2 separate regions of the Homo sapiens genome follow, and region 2 is linked to region 1. The links are contacts of gene promoters, found by promoter capture Hi-C in blood cells and fetal thymus (Javierre and others, 2016). All regions are on one chromosome and are shown on one strand. Each heading gives the region's core, a stretch centred on a gene start or on the middle of the fragment in contact. The rest is flanking DNA. Distances are from core to core; before and after follow the strand shown.

What was found. The method cuts DNA at HindIII sites, captures the fragments that hold promoters and counts their contacts. A CHiCAGO score of 5 or more calls a contact.
Region 2: a contact is called between a fragment that was not itself captured here and the fragment with the promoter of NDRG1 in region 1, in 1 of 17 cell types (fetal thymus). The highest score is 5.7, in fetal thymus.

What each region holds. Positions count from the first base shown.
Region 1 is chr8:133,295,050-133,302,021 of GRCh38, forward strand. It overlaps NDRG1 (N-myc downstream regulated 1), which reads right to left and starts at 2,203. Exons shown (of 16, transcript NM_006096.4): 1 at 2,085-2,203. RefSeq lists a silencer at 2,084-2,533. The HindIII fragment of the contact is 9,218 bases long and covers 1-6,972 here.
Region 2 is chr8:134,681,365-134,688,686 of GRCh38, forward strand. All of the region lies in intron 1 of ZFAT (zinc finger and AT-hook domain containing), which reads right to left. Among named protein-coding and RNA genes, the nearest start is that of ZFAT, 28 kb to the right of the region's middle. RefSeq lists enhancers at 1,571-1,720, 2,351-2,440, 4,200-4,701, 4,702-5,201 and a silencer at 5,281-5,447. The HindIII fragment of the contact is 4,398 bases long and covers 2,669-7,066 here.

The DNA.
Region 1 (6,972 bases), core at 953-3,452:
TTTTTATTCCATTCCAAATGATCAAACTTTGTTGCTCCAAAAGAACTTCCTCACAAGAGACCCAAACAGACACTCCAGGATCCCTCAAAAGCAAAAGCCAACACCTCCACCCATGCACAGTCTATTACCTCGCCCGAAACTCAACCTGCTGGTTCACAGGAGAATGGGGCAGAAGACCCAGAGCCATCCACTTCATCCCATGTGCATATTTCAACTCCTCCCACCTGCCAGGCGCTGGGCCAGGGGCCAGGTTACAGGGCAGGGCAGGCAAATCCTCCTCCTTGCCCAGATGCAGTGGGAGACACGGTCCCACAAAGCTAAGAAGTCACAGGTCAGGGGAACACCCAGTTTTCCATCCACACCAAAACCCTCTCTCTCCCTTACACCTTCCTTCATCCCCGACACTGTGCCACCCCAGCCTGGGGCTGGCTCTGCCGCCACACACACCACACAGAACCGGTCTGCGTCTCCAGCCGTGTGTCTTCCCCACCAGAAGGCAGCCCTTCCAAGAAAGGCGCTGGGGTTTGCCCCCTCTGTACCTTGCTTATTTCAATCACATTTGTGAAACTCAATAAGAACGCCAGAATTTCTCAACAGGAAGAGTCTAGACTGAAAAATTCGCCTTGAAACTACATTTCTGCAGCAAGAACAGGGGGTTTGTATTTAGATATGTTCTTTTGAGGCAGCTTAGGAGAAGGTCCCGTGCAGCTGATGGGTATTATAAGGATGTCTACCGCCCTCCTGCCTGGCCACTGGCTGACTTCTGAATATTAGATATTTCCCAGTAGCTTAAAGAAACCAAACAAACTGAAGTGCCCCCAGCGTCCGTGAGGAAGGGGTGTTCTTGGATGGGCATAAGATAACCAAGGGCCCTGCCTCCCCCACCCACTGCCAGGCATCTCCCACTTCCAAGCCACAGAGGCGTGCTGTTCAGGACCCCCAGGGACAGCAGGGACAACAGGCGGGGGATATGGGGGAGGGGTGGGTAAGGAACCGACCCACTAAATCCCAGCTCCAGCTACTAATTTGACAGAGGCGTGACAGCGTGTTTCCCCCAGAACCAGCCGCATTCCCCAAGCCCAGCCCGAAATCTCCTCCCGAGGCTGAATCAGAGACCGCGGCGGATCCCCCAGGAACGTCGAAGTAATTCCAGCTGTTTTCCCCCGTGGAGGGCAGGAGCGGCCAGCACCAGAGGCAGGGGAGGGGAGGAAAGCGGGGGAGGGTGGGCGGAGGCGAAAATGACGCCACTCCTAGCTCCAGCCAGCTCAAGGGGCCGCCAAATGTCCGCGAGACCCCTCTCGCCCAGGTCACTTCTCCCACGCCGCCGATGCGCCAATCCCGGGTTCCTCCGGGGGCGCACCCTGCCCAGTGGCGCTCGCAGACACTTGCTCCGGCTCGCGTGTTGCACTGTGACACACCCTGGACCCTCCCCCCACACACACGCTTACACTCACACATGCACACCGCCCTGTGTGTGCTACGGGACTGAAGCGCCACCAGCCTCTCGGATCCACACCCGTTCCCGACCCAGTCTGCAAGCCAGACACACCCACGCCCCCCTCTCCAGCCTCCTTGCCAGCGCCACTCACCTCTACCAACCCCTCATCTACACACTCGCGCGCAATCTCTCCGTTCCCAGACACAGACACACACACACACACACACACACACACACACACACACTCACCTAGTCCCTTCTGCACCCACGTCCAGCGCGCACCCCTGCCAGCGGCGCCAGCTGGGATTCGGAGACGACGCCAGGAAACGCTATCCTGGTATTTTTTCGGACCGTCTCATCGCCCCCTTCCCGACCTCCAGAACCCCAATCCCCAGCTAGGGGGGAGATGAATGGGACCCTGTCTTTTTTTCCTCCCTTTCCGTAATTGAACCCCCCACTTCAGCGGTGTCTGCACCCAAAGCCCCCTCGCGCCCGCGCCCCGGGGTGACCGCGCACTTGCAGCTCCGGGGCGCTTACTCCTGGAGTACGCGGGGCTACAAAGGGCGGTCCTGGCGCTCCAGCGGCACCGCACGGGCGGCCCCTTTCTGCTCCGCGTCGCGCCTGGGAGAAGAGGGCGCGGGCTTACCTAACGCGAGGGAGAAAGGAAAGGACGGTGCCGAGGCTGGCGGCCCAGCGCCCCGCGGAAGCCGAGGGCGGATGGTGAACTGACGAGCTTCAGCACCAGCTGGGAGCCAGGCGAGGTTTGTTTACGTCCGGGCGGAGGGCGACTTTATAGGCGCCGCGGCCCCGCCCCCGCGCCTCGCCCCTCCCAGACCCTCGCAGTCCCAGCACGCAGCCGGGACACACCCCTTCCCCGCTCCCTGCTCCCTCCTCCCGGGCGCGCCGGGCTGGGCTGGGCTCCGGCAGCGCGCGGCGGGCGCCCACTGGAGCCGCCGCCTGTTGCGCAAGCAGTCGTAGGGGCGCGGCCGGGAGGGGCATCGGGGCCCGGGTTGTGGGTCGGCTCTGCAGTCCCCTCCGAGTCCAGGGCCTCGGCCTGTGCAGCGGGCGCGTGTGCCCTGCCCGGAGGAGGCGTTTGTGTGCTTGTGCGTGTTCATGTGCGCGCTCGTGCGTGTGCATGTGGACTTCCTTGTGTCTCCGTATGGGCGGAGGCCCCCCATCTCTGCCTCAGAGTTTCTTCTAAGAGTCTCGTTGCGCCACGCCCTGAGCGACTCCCTTCACTTCCTGTAGGTCTCACCAGCTCGGCTCTCCAGCCGGATTCGGCTGCCTGCCCAGCAGCCGCCTTCGCTTTCGCCCGACAGGCTCCCTCCGATTCTCAGCCTTCCGTGTCGCCAAAGCTCTCGCTGAAATCCTCGCTCCCGTTTAATCTCGTCCATCTTGCCCACCGCCGCCCAGCGCTTACCCTTCCCCTCATCTTCCCAGTTCTAAGCACACTCACTGGACCTTGCCCACTGGGCTCTTCTCTCCTGCCCCACAAGCCCAGATGAGAGGATTCTCACCCCTTCCTATTCTGATTTCCTGAACTTTCATGACTCACCCTTTCCAACCTTAGCACCGTCCTGCTCTGCTGCTCTGTTTGTGCGTAACTATTGGCCTGCATGTTCCCATCTGGCCAAAGAAACCAGCAATTCTCAACCCCTACTGCATATGAGAAGTCCCAGAGGAGCCGCCAAATTAAAAAATAAATAAATAGATAGATAATAAAAAGAGAGAGATGGACTCCAGAACAGTTTAATCAGAATCTCAGGGGGTGCAAACCAACTGGGCATTGGGGTTTTTACAAAGCTACCCAGGTGGCTCCTGACGTGCAGCCAGGTTGAGAAGCACTGCATGGAGGAACATGATTTTATGAATAAAGGAAGTCTGACTCACAGCTGGCACCGTCATTGTCCTCAGGCCACCTGCCCAGCGTTGAATTTGCCACTGAGCCCAGGACCAGACCCAGGGCAAGCTCAGGTGACCCTCCCTGCGCCTCCACAGACACACACGCGCGCACGCACAACACTTCCTGCTGAATTGTAAACCTCTTTTCTGTGCCAACCCATGCTGTCCCCAAGGCAGGGGCCATGGCTTTCCCCTCTGATTATTAGGGCCAGTTTTGGAGAAGGGTTTTCTGGAACAAAAGAAATATGGAGAGGGGCAAACAGCACCTCTAGGACCCAGGACATCTGTGTTTCAGGCCTGTCTTTGACACTATCGATCACAAATCAACAAATCTGGGCTTCAGAATTCTCACTGGCAAAGGGAGAGGATTAGATTCAATGATCTTTCAGAACCTATCTAGTGCTAAAGCTCTGTTATTCTATTACAAATGACCAGTGTGAAGAACAGAGTTCCAGTGTCATGGGTTTTGCTGCTAGAAGAGTTTGGCTAAACTACAAAGTTTGGCTATTAGCTATGAAGTTTGGCTAAACTACAAAGTTTGGCTACATTCAAGAATGCCTTGAATGTAGGAGCACATTCCCCCACCCTAGAAAATTTAACATCTAGAATTAATAAGTGAATGAATGACCACTGGGCAGTCTTCCATTCTTTATGGATTTGAACTAGTTCAACTGCAGCATTCCCAGTGAGGGAAAATTTTTCTTATTTCAAATAAAATGTTGTGTCCAGGTAGAGTGGCTTACACCTGTAATCCCAGCACTTTGGGAGGCCAATGCAGAAGCCTCTCTTGAGTCCAGGAGTTTGAGACCAGCCTTCACAACATAGTGATGTCCCATCTCTACAAAAAAGATGAAAGCTAGCCAGGCCTGGTGGCAAGTACCTGTAGTCCCAGCTACTTCAGAGGCAGAGGTGGGAGGATTGCTTGAGCCCAGGAGTTCCAGAAAAGTCTGAGCAACATAATGAGACATCATCTCTACAAGAAAATAAAAAATCAGGTGGGCTTAGTGGCATGCAGCTGTAGTTCCAGCTACTTGGGAGGCTAAGGCAGGAGCCTTGCCTCCCTAGGCCCTGAAACTTATTTATTCTGTCATTCCACAAATGACAGAATTGAGCTGCTCTTATGAGCTGGGTCCTGTACTCCGCCACTGGGAAAGGACTGAAAAGGCAAAAACATTTTCTACAGGTGCATAGCATGGTACAGCCCCAAGACGCAGTTTCTCCATCCATACAGCGTGGTTGAGATGAACTCATTCATTCCCTAACTATATTAAGGACCTACTATGCCCAGGCACCATTCTAGACCCTGGGGACATGATCATGAACAACAGCAACAACAAAAGTGCATCTCTGGGAGCCATCCTGCTGTCTAAAGACCCTCCCAGATCAAGCAGCCTGTGTGCCTGTTATCCTTTAGCCAGCTTACACATACCCATTTTCCCATAGGCTCCCCATTGCGGCGATTTATTGAGTGAGCACCTTTGGTTTTTTACCTGCTAAAGATACAAGAGTGTCAAGTTCAAAAGTGCGGAGTGTCAAGATAAGGAATGTCAAGTTCAAAGGCGCAGGGAAGGCGGCCCACTTCTTCAGTAACAAATGGAACTAGTGCATGGAATTAGAAGGGCATTTTGCCAGGGGAGGCCCTTGCCTGTCTCTTTGAGGAGGTCCTCAGGACAGAATGCGAAGAGCAGCCCAGATTTGCAGCTTGAAACCCCGAGGAGGTTGCCTGGCAGGAGGCTGGGCTTGTGTGGGAAGCCTAACCTTCTGGAAGACCATTAGCATTGAATAGGTCAGAAGACAGAGGAAGGAGAGTGGAGTGAAGAGAAAAGAGCAGAGAAGGGAGGCAAGAATTTGAGCAATGGAACACAATTTTCCAAGTGATGGCATTCTAAAATCAGAGTCCACATCACCTTGGAGAAGGCCTGAGGAAGACACCATTTGGATTCCACACTCCCCTCCCTCAGCCCAACACAGCCAATTTTCCTTCCCTGTTGAAAAGGATGTTTTCTTCCGCTGAGCACCAGATGAAGTAGTTTTCTTAGCTAAGTGTCACGCTGCAGGAGAAAGACTGTCTTTAGTACAGGCCTGGATGCACATAAAGCATAGAGGACGCCCACCCTATACAGAGGCCCCTCACTGGGACCTGGGAGCTGCATGCACCTCCACATCCCCCACCGCAGCCAGCTGAGGTGGCAGAAGCTCACGGAGCTGAATGTGGGTGCAATTGCACTGACTGTTTACATTATTCCTCTTTCTCGCTGGTCAGCAGTAGAATCAGATTTGCTTAGTAAATGCACACGCGCTGCAAATCCGTCACAGGATGAGATTGGATTTTCTGGACTAATGTCCACTGGAAATTTCTACTTAACAACAACTTAGATTTTATACTAGAATATTCTAACCAAATGTTCCAAAAATGACCATAGGAATCACCTGTTCCCAACTGTCTTTCTTAAAACTCATGGGTACTCGGGGTTGGGAGAGACCAAGATGCAGCAGGGATTCATGGAGAAGAACCCGGTGGTCTGTGGCCCCCAGCTCCAACTTCACCACTTATGAGCTGTAGTACCTGGGGCAAATTACTCCACCTCTCTGTGCATGGAGGAAACGAGTGAGAGAAACCATCAGACCTTTCAATCACAATTTATGGGTCTACTGCTGCAGACCATCATCTTTTCTGTCTGTCAAAATGAAAAAGTGTCCGTAAAAGTGTCTTCCCACCTCCAGTCCTGGGCTCCCTCGGGACCCCCTCTCTCCTCCAGCATCCATCTCTCCCTTTCTTCTGGATCAAACTAATCAACAAGTAAATATTCACTGCAATCAATGACCCACCCTAAACCAATCCCCTCTTAATTCCAAGCCCCCCACTCCTGTACTGCAGCCCAATCAACAAGTAAACATTCACTGCAATCAATGACCCACCCTAACCAATCCCCTCTGATTCCCAAGTCCCCCATTCCTGTACTGCAGCCCAGTTCCTCTCACCCCTTCCTCCCTAAACTTTCCAAAACAAGCATCTGTACCCAAAGGCCCACCTCATCTCCTCTTCCTTTTACTTTGTAGTGATTATCAAGTTTTTCTTGAACCTGGTCAAATAAGTCTTCAAAACTTGTTAGGAAAAACAACAGCCTTTGTCTCCCCACTTTTCCACTTCCCTATCCCCAGAAGTCACCACTCTCTGCTCTTGGAGAATTATTTCTATCTTATCTTTGCCACTTGCAGACTCTATGCTCTTGGGCAAGTTATTTCATTTCCTTCCTCTGCCTCCTCATGTATAAGATACACATAACAATACAGGGTCATTGTGATAAATATATGTGTTAATATATGTAAAGTGCCTAGAACAGTCCCTGGCATATAGAAGGCTCTCATTAAAGTGTTCACCCTCATCCTCACTGTCATCATCACCATCATCATCATCATCATCATCATCATCATCATCTTGTCTCATCCCTCCTGGCATCTTGCACACCTGACCGTAGAGAAGTTCAGTAAATATTGGTTGAAGAACTGAGCAAATGCAGATGTTTCTCTTTGAATTCATCCCATCTTATTCGGTCTTACTGCTTGGACTCTGTTAGGAGGGAAAAGGGGATCCTACCTGCTTCATGATCCCAGGTGGAGGGACTGCCATC
Region 2 (7,322 bases), core at 3,618-6,117, 1.4 Mb after region 1:
CACTGCCTTTCATACCACCTGTACTCATTACCTGCAGTGACAGCCTCACCAGCCCAATGCCAGCTTCCCCTTAGCGATGATGCTGCTGACACAGTAGGCACTCCATAAGTGCTAGATGATCTGATTATTACAAAATGATTAACCATTTATCAATGCCCTCAAGAAGACAAAATGCTACATTATGAGACTAGTACATTACTCTGTTTAAAAGCTCTAGATTAAACATCTCTTACTTCTTCTCCTTGATTAGTATAAATCATCCTCCCTGCTTTGTAACTATCTTTTACTTGTATTTATTAACTTTAGAGAGAGTACAACCACCAAAACTAAGATCCTATTAAATTATCTATCTTATGAGGAGAGGAGTAGGGTGGCAAATTCTTTCTGAGTTATACTTTTGTTTTCTTGTTTTTCATTTGCCCTTAAGTTATTAATTTAATAAGGGCCAGTAGCTTCCCAATAGGAATGGAAATATTTTAACAACATAAAGCCAGATTGCTGTCACATCCAGCGGAATCAATAAAGTCTCATATGTGCAGCTGAGTACAGTTTAAAATATCTTTTTTATATATTCAGGAAGAGACTCAGGTTAGAACAAACATTTTCCTTCCATTTAGCTCATCTTGCAGAACTTTTAATCAGCTGTGAATAAACTATGTCATCAACTTCATTACCGTCATTATACTTAGGGAAAACTTGCTGTAACCAAAACAATGGCATTGAAAGAGGAAGAAGCCGATGAGAAGGGAGGTTAAATTAAACCCTCACCATGAGCTGGCACCAGCAGAGGCTCATACGAGGCTTATTTAATTCTCACAACAATCCTGTGAAATAGGTTTTATTATTGTATTTCCTCAAATCTAAGACAGCATCTACTTTAGGGAGCACGGATATTTTACATACCACTAAAAAAGATAAAAACGCTGCCAAATAAACTCAGAGACACTAGCTTCTCACCACACCAACTGTAAGCTGCCTCCTGATCTTAGAGATGCTAAAATCTAAGTCTGGCCGGGCACGGTGGCTCATGCCTATAATCCCAGCACTTTGGGAGGCTGAGGCAGGCAGATCGCTTGAGCTCAGGAGTTCGAGACCACCTAAGGGACATGGCGAAACCTGTCTCTATCAAAAATACAAAAAATTAGCCGGGTGTGGTGGCGCCTGCCTGTGGTCACAGCTACTGGGGAGGCTGAGGTGAGAGGATCGCTTGAGCCTGGAAGGCGGAGGTTGCAGTGAGCAGAGATTGTGCCATTGCACTCCATTGTGGGTGACAGAGTGAAACTCCATCTCAAAAATAAAATAAAATTAAATTAAATTAAATTAAAAAGTCTTTGAATCAATGAAGTTCAGAAACATTTCCATATAACTGGGCAGGCTGGATGTTAGCTGGGGAGAGAGCCTGGCTCCCAACCTCGGCTCCCTCCCCTGTAAGGCCCTTTTTCCCCACTCTGCACACCGTACACACTCAGGCTGTAAGCCTGGCTTCTGAGCTCACTTCTATGGCAGCACAACAACCCTACTTTCAAGGGAGAGGAGATAAACATTTCCTGAGTACCAGAGGCTTTCGTACTCCCTCTCACATTTGATCTGGACAAGCTGGGTTGCTGCTAGCCCTTAAGGCACCTCTGTGAGAAATGGACAAACGCACCCTTCCTTAAGACACTAGCACCCCCTGTCAGAAAATGGTCATAACATATTGAGTTTGTTGGAATAATACGCTTTGCAGCCATTTGTAGAAAACTCATAATAAACATACAAATTCACTATGTGAAATGAGCCCCCTTAGAAGTGGCTCCCTTGGGGGCATGGAGGATACAAAAACAAAAGAAGAAGTGGCTCCTTTGTGCAGTGTGTAACCTGCACAGCTGTACACAGTAGCTCTGCTAATGTGTCAGACACAAAGATATGATTATCCCACGTTACAGATGAGAAAGCTATAACTTGCCTAAGAATCAAATACAGGCCTGTATGGTTCCACAGCTACTTGATGAATCGCAAGGAGCTTAAAAATTAGGTAGGAAAGCAGGTTGTATGTGTGCGCATCTACATATGAACATACTAACCACAGGCCACAGAAGCACGTGTGGAGAAGGCAGAGATCCCTGTGGCTGGAGCACCTGGAAGAGGTTTGTCAGAAAAGGGGAAGTTGAACTGCTCCAGGAGGTGGCCAGACAGCTGGAGGAAGGAAAGGAGAAGGGAGTGGAAGCCACACAGCCAGTGGGGGCAGAACCAAGAGCCTTGCCTGTTGGAAGAGCCTTGAGTGTGGAAAGAGGACAGGTTAAAGGCAGGGCAGGCACACTGAGAGCTGTGGCGGCTCCACCAAGAGCCCCCCGCCACAGACCGGTACCTGGACAGGAAATGGATGCAAGAAGCTCCTGCCCCGCAAGCAGGAGGCCCATCCTGGAGGTCTGGAGACAGGGGGTGGGGCACTTAGAAAGCCTGCTCTGTCTGATGGGGTAGCTGCCTCCCAGGTCTAGTCAATGGAGGCCCAAATATTGAATTTGTAGTTGGAATCCCCTGATTTTTAAGCACTGGCCATCAAATAAGATTTTTCTGGGAAAGAAAAAAAAGAAAAGAAAAAAACCTCTGCAGCCCCTGCAGACCAAACTAAGCAAATCTGCAGGTTAGGTCTGGCCTACGGGTTGCCAATTTGCAACTTCTGATAAAAAGCTTTCCACTTGGGTGACTAGGGGAAAGCTGTTAACTTACAGGGGAAAAGCCAAGGAAACTGGTCTGAAAAAAACAGAGACACACAGACCACGAGAAAGAGAGAGTACAGGGACATTGAAAGGGACAGAGGAGACGACCCAGCACCTTCTGCCCATCCACCCAGCTCCCTAACACCCCATACCAGTGCCTGGCTTGGGTAAGTGGATGACAATTAGTGTGATTTTTCCAGTTTGGAGATTTTCTCTGAGTTTTTCACATCTTACACAACAGGAATTACATGTGTAATCCAAGAAAAATTAAATTTAAAAAAACACTTACATGGGTGTTAGAAATAAAGCGATAGCAAGTGACAAAATAATAAGATCTCCATCTTACAGGAGGAAGACTTACTGATCCCCAGACAGCTTGGGCCTCAGACACGTCAACTTGTCTTGGTCAGGACCAAACACTCATTCAAGACCGAGATCAAGGCCAGGGCTGCCCACACCATAGGGACACGCCAGCTCTAGACACAGCTGCTGGGTTCCTGGTATTTCTCCTTGACGTTGATTAGATGTTTGACTGGACAGGGTAGGGATATGTCTTACACTTCTCCCTTCCTTTATGTAATAAAGGTATGTTTGATTGATAAAATGACCCAAAAAATAAAAGAAGACAGGAAACTAGTTTAACCAGTAGCAAGATAGATTTAGATTACGTGGGGAAAAGGCATTCTTGGCACAAAAGTTTCATTCATTGCAACGAGAAACTTGGTAAGTGTGGCAGGTGTGGGCAGCCTAACCTCAAAGTGCCAGATTCCAGAACTGCAAATGTGGGGGCTGGGTGCGAGGAGTGCCCAGGTGAGCAGACAGCCCACCAGGATTAGAGGAGGCCAGCCAGGAAAAGGCACAGGAGCTCCCAGAGCTGGTGTTCTAGGAGTTTCCACGTGTCAGCCATGGGAAGGAGAGGAAGACATCAAGACTTCATGGCACAAAGTGGCACCCCCACCCTCCCCTGCCCCAGCCACTAGCTGCAAGGAGGTGTTTACGCTGCCTCCTGTTGGTCACACAGACGTTCCTATTAGTGACCACACTGGACCCTCCCTGCTGTCCTGTGAAACAGCCCAGTACATGGTGTCATCCCCATCACCACCACCACCGTCACCATCCCCTTTTTACAGAGGAGAAACCTGGGGCTCAGGTTAGTGAGCTGCCAAAGAGCCCCCAGTCAGATAAATTAAAAAGCCAGAACTTAACCAAGACCCACCAAGTCGACCACCACATCTGCCCACCCACCTGGTACCTAGCCCTGCTACAGGAAATCGCTTGTTATTTCCTGTAATGCTCACAGTGAGCAATACTGTGAGGAATGCAAGTCTTGGTCTCCCCAGCCCACAGCCAGCGTCATGGTTAGAGGGACATTTCAAATGATTAATTACAACTAAGAAAAGTAGCTACGTGGAGAAGGGGACTCTGCTGTGTTTGTTATAATTTACTACAGCAATTCATTTCGGGGAGCAACAGCTGGAAAATAACAGTATGCCAGATATAAGTGATACCAACCCACCCCAAACCACATACTTAATGAGCATGCCCACTGCACAGGTTGGCAGCAGGTCCAGAACCAGGGAACAGCAGACCACCAGGTAAGAGGCAGACAGTCTTTTAGCAAAACAACACCGGGAGTTACTGTCAAGCAGAAAGCACAGACCTTCATCAACGGGAGGGCGACATATACGTGCTAACATCACCCTCCAGTGGCCCACCAGGGCACTACATCTGACTAGGCCATAATTTTAAAAAACATGGCTAGTATTTACTGATTGCCTAACTCTTGGCTGGTGCCTTCCCCGTCACCCCACTTAACCTTCACATTAACCCAGTAAGTGAGGGGCTGCTGTTCCCATCTTAAGACGAGTTAAGTGGGCCAGGTAGGGGATTACAAGGTGATACAGCAGGTGGGCACACAGCAGGGCTACAACCCAAACACACATCCTTGGCCCAGGACCAGACCCCGCTGCCCTTCCTAGGTGGAGTCACTGCTGCTGCTGGTCCCCAGAGGGGGTGCAGCTGCCCTGACAGCTCAGGTGCCCTGGCCAGCCCCAGCAGGTAACTCAGACCAACTCTGACCACAGATTGGCCGCCACCTGGCCAATTCTCAACCTGAGTAAGTTATTTTCAACTCTTATGGGGCTTTCCCGTGTATGCCCACATTTCTATGTGACAGAAATGACACGGAGAGGAATAAGCCTAACCCAGGGTCCAGGTGGCATGCTTCCACTGACATGGCTACAAGGAAGGCACAACCACCCTGCCCTGAGTCCTGGTTATCCTGGGTTGGGGGCTGGGACCAGAGACTTCTGGGGTGCAGGGGAGTTCTGCTTCCAGATGTGATACTGGTTACTCACTGGTTATGCAGTGAGTTCAGTTTGCGAACATTCACTAAGCTGTTTATCCTATGCATATTTCTCTACATGTATGTTACACGTTAATCTAAGAAAATGTGAACAGCAAATTTTAAAGGAAAAGATATAGGGAAAAAAAACGATATTCTGATTCACAAGTGAACCTCTCATTTAAAACAACATAGATCGGAACACTATTTTGGCCCTCGTAGCTGTGTGACCCTGCGCACACACACTTGGCCTCTCTGAGCTTCAGTTTCCTTCTGCACAGGGCTGCAGAGAGGACGGCAGGACATCACGAAGACGATGTGCCTAGCTTAGTGCCTGGCCCCTCAGAGGCACCATTCTACATGAAGCATCATGAGGGGTACCCACCTTGTCAGAAGCCCAGGCCTCCCAGCTCCTAAGTGGCTCTCACACTTCCAATGGATGGATTCTGCATACGTCTCTGAATTTCTTTATCCCTCATTGTCTCTTCTGAAAGAAGAGCAGCCCAAATTAATAGTGGCCTTGGAGTGTTTGAAAGTGGAACCTAGTCTTCAAGCCCTATGCAGAGGCTAACGTGCAGAGAGACAGAGACAGCATCTTCAACCAAAGCAAGGGTGTGGGGCAGACCCACCAGCACCCACCTCCCCTCCACCCTGCAGGGACACAATATGAACCAACCCTCCTGCCTCCTGCTGCTCCCCTGCCCATAAATCATCTCCAAGGTGCCTCCCTTCCAGCTCTGATGCTCAGTGGGCTGAAGCTCCAATAAATGCACACCACTAATTTGTGAAATGATTATCATGCATCTCATAAAATGCTGATGAACATGCCAACTCCCATAGCTCACACAGTTAACGTGTTTATTAAAGGCAAGAGAGAAATCCCGTGGGTGTTTCTTTGCTGAAGCTGGATTAACAAAATAAAATGAGAAATACTCAGCATCAGCTATAATTAGGGCTGGGCCAACAGTTGCATTATAATTTTATGCATACACATCTCTTCCATGTTGAAACTTGGCATAAATTCTTTTAAGTTATTTTTAAGCACTCTCAAAATGAGAGCCCCTGGGCAATGGAATACATTCACATTTAACACAATAATCATAGCTTTAAAATGTGGCCCTCAGGAAAGCACCACAAATCATTTTACATAAACAGGAACAGCCCCCCACCCCGAGAGCAGATGTGTGGGAAGCGCTGAGGGTACAGGAACACCCCCTGTCCCGCTGCAGACCCTGGACACGACAGCTCCCCATTTGCAAACTGACGAGGTGGCCCTGAAGAGCCGCCTACCCACAGCTCTCAAGTGATGCCTCTAAGTAACCAAGTCTCTGTGGTCATTTCCACATCAAAAGTAAAAGGAGCAAAATCCTCTCCCATTTTCTAGAGTACTGGGGAGAAATAGCAATGCCCATCACCACCGCACATCCGGGTTGACAGCTGTTGGTCTGCGTTGCTTTAGTGTATTTCTGTTCCTCCGTGGGGCAGGCCTGCCTCTCGTCTTGTTTCTGAAGTAAAGGGCTGCCTGAAAGCCAGCCTCAGCGCTGAGCTCGGCTCAGAAGCCCTGGTTCAAACCCCATGGCATCAGCCACTTCAGTGTGACTGGAGCCACCTTTCCCTTCCTGAATCTGTAGGGACTCAGCTCAAAAATGGAGATAACCACAGCTGCCCTGGTAAGATTGATGGGCGGTGGGGGGGATCTTGTGGTGGGGGTGTTATGTAGGGGAATACTGGGAAAAAAGGGCTTTGTAGACTGCTAAAGATGGTGTCGATGCTGAAGAGAACAGAGAATTTTTTAAATCCAGAAACGTTCAGCCAGACAGCTAAAGCTACCTACTGGGTCCCTAGTTGCTTCTGCTGTCCTTTAACACACATCTATACAAATACACATACACACACATAAAACATATACATGCGCACACATGCACCCGCAAAACGTGTGTACATACACAAATGCACATACAGCACACATGCGCACACAAACATACACTTTCTTCAGGGAAACCAAAGACACAGGCAATTCAGAAGCTTTTTGAGAGACAATATAAACAACACAGCAACAATAATGACAGAAAGTGGAAATCAGGGATCCAAATCCCAAGAACTGAGAAAAGAAAGAGCCACGAGAAAGGGGAGAAGGAAGGTGGAGGAAACAAAAGGAAGAAAAGGAGCCAGGACTTGGGTTTCCAGAGTTTGAGCCACAGCAGGTGCTTGGAGGAGCTGTCAGGAGCCCTGGGAGGGAGCAGGGAATTGTCACCCAGTTCCAGCTCTGGAAAGACAAC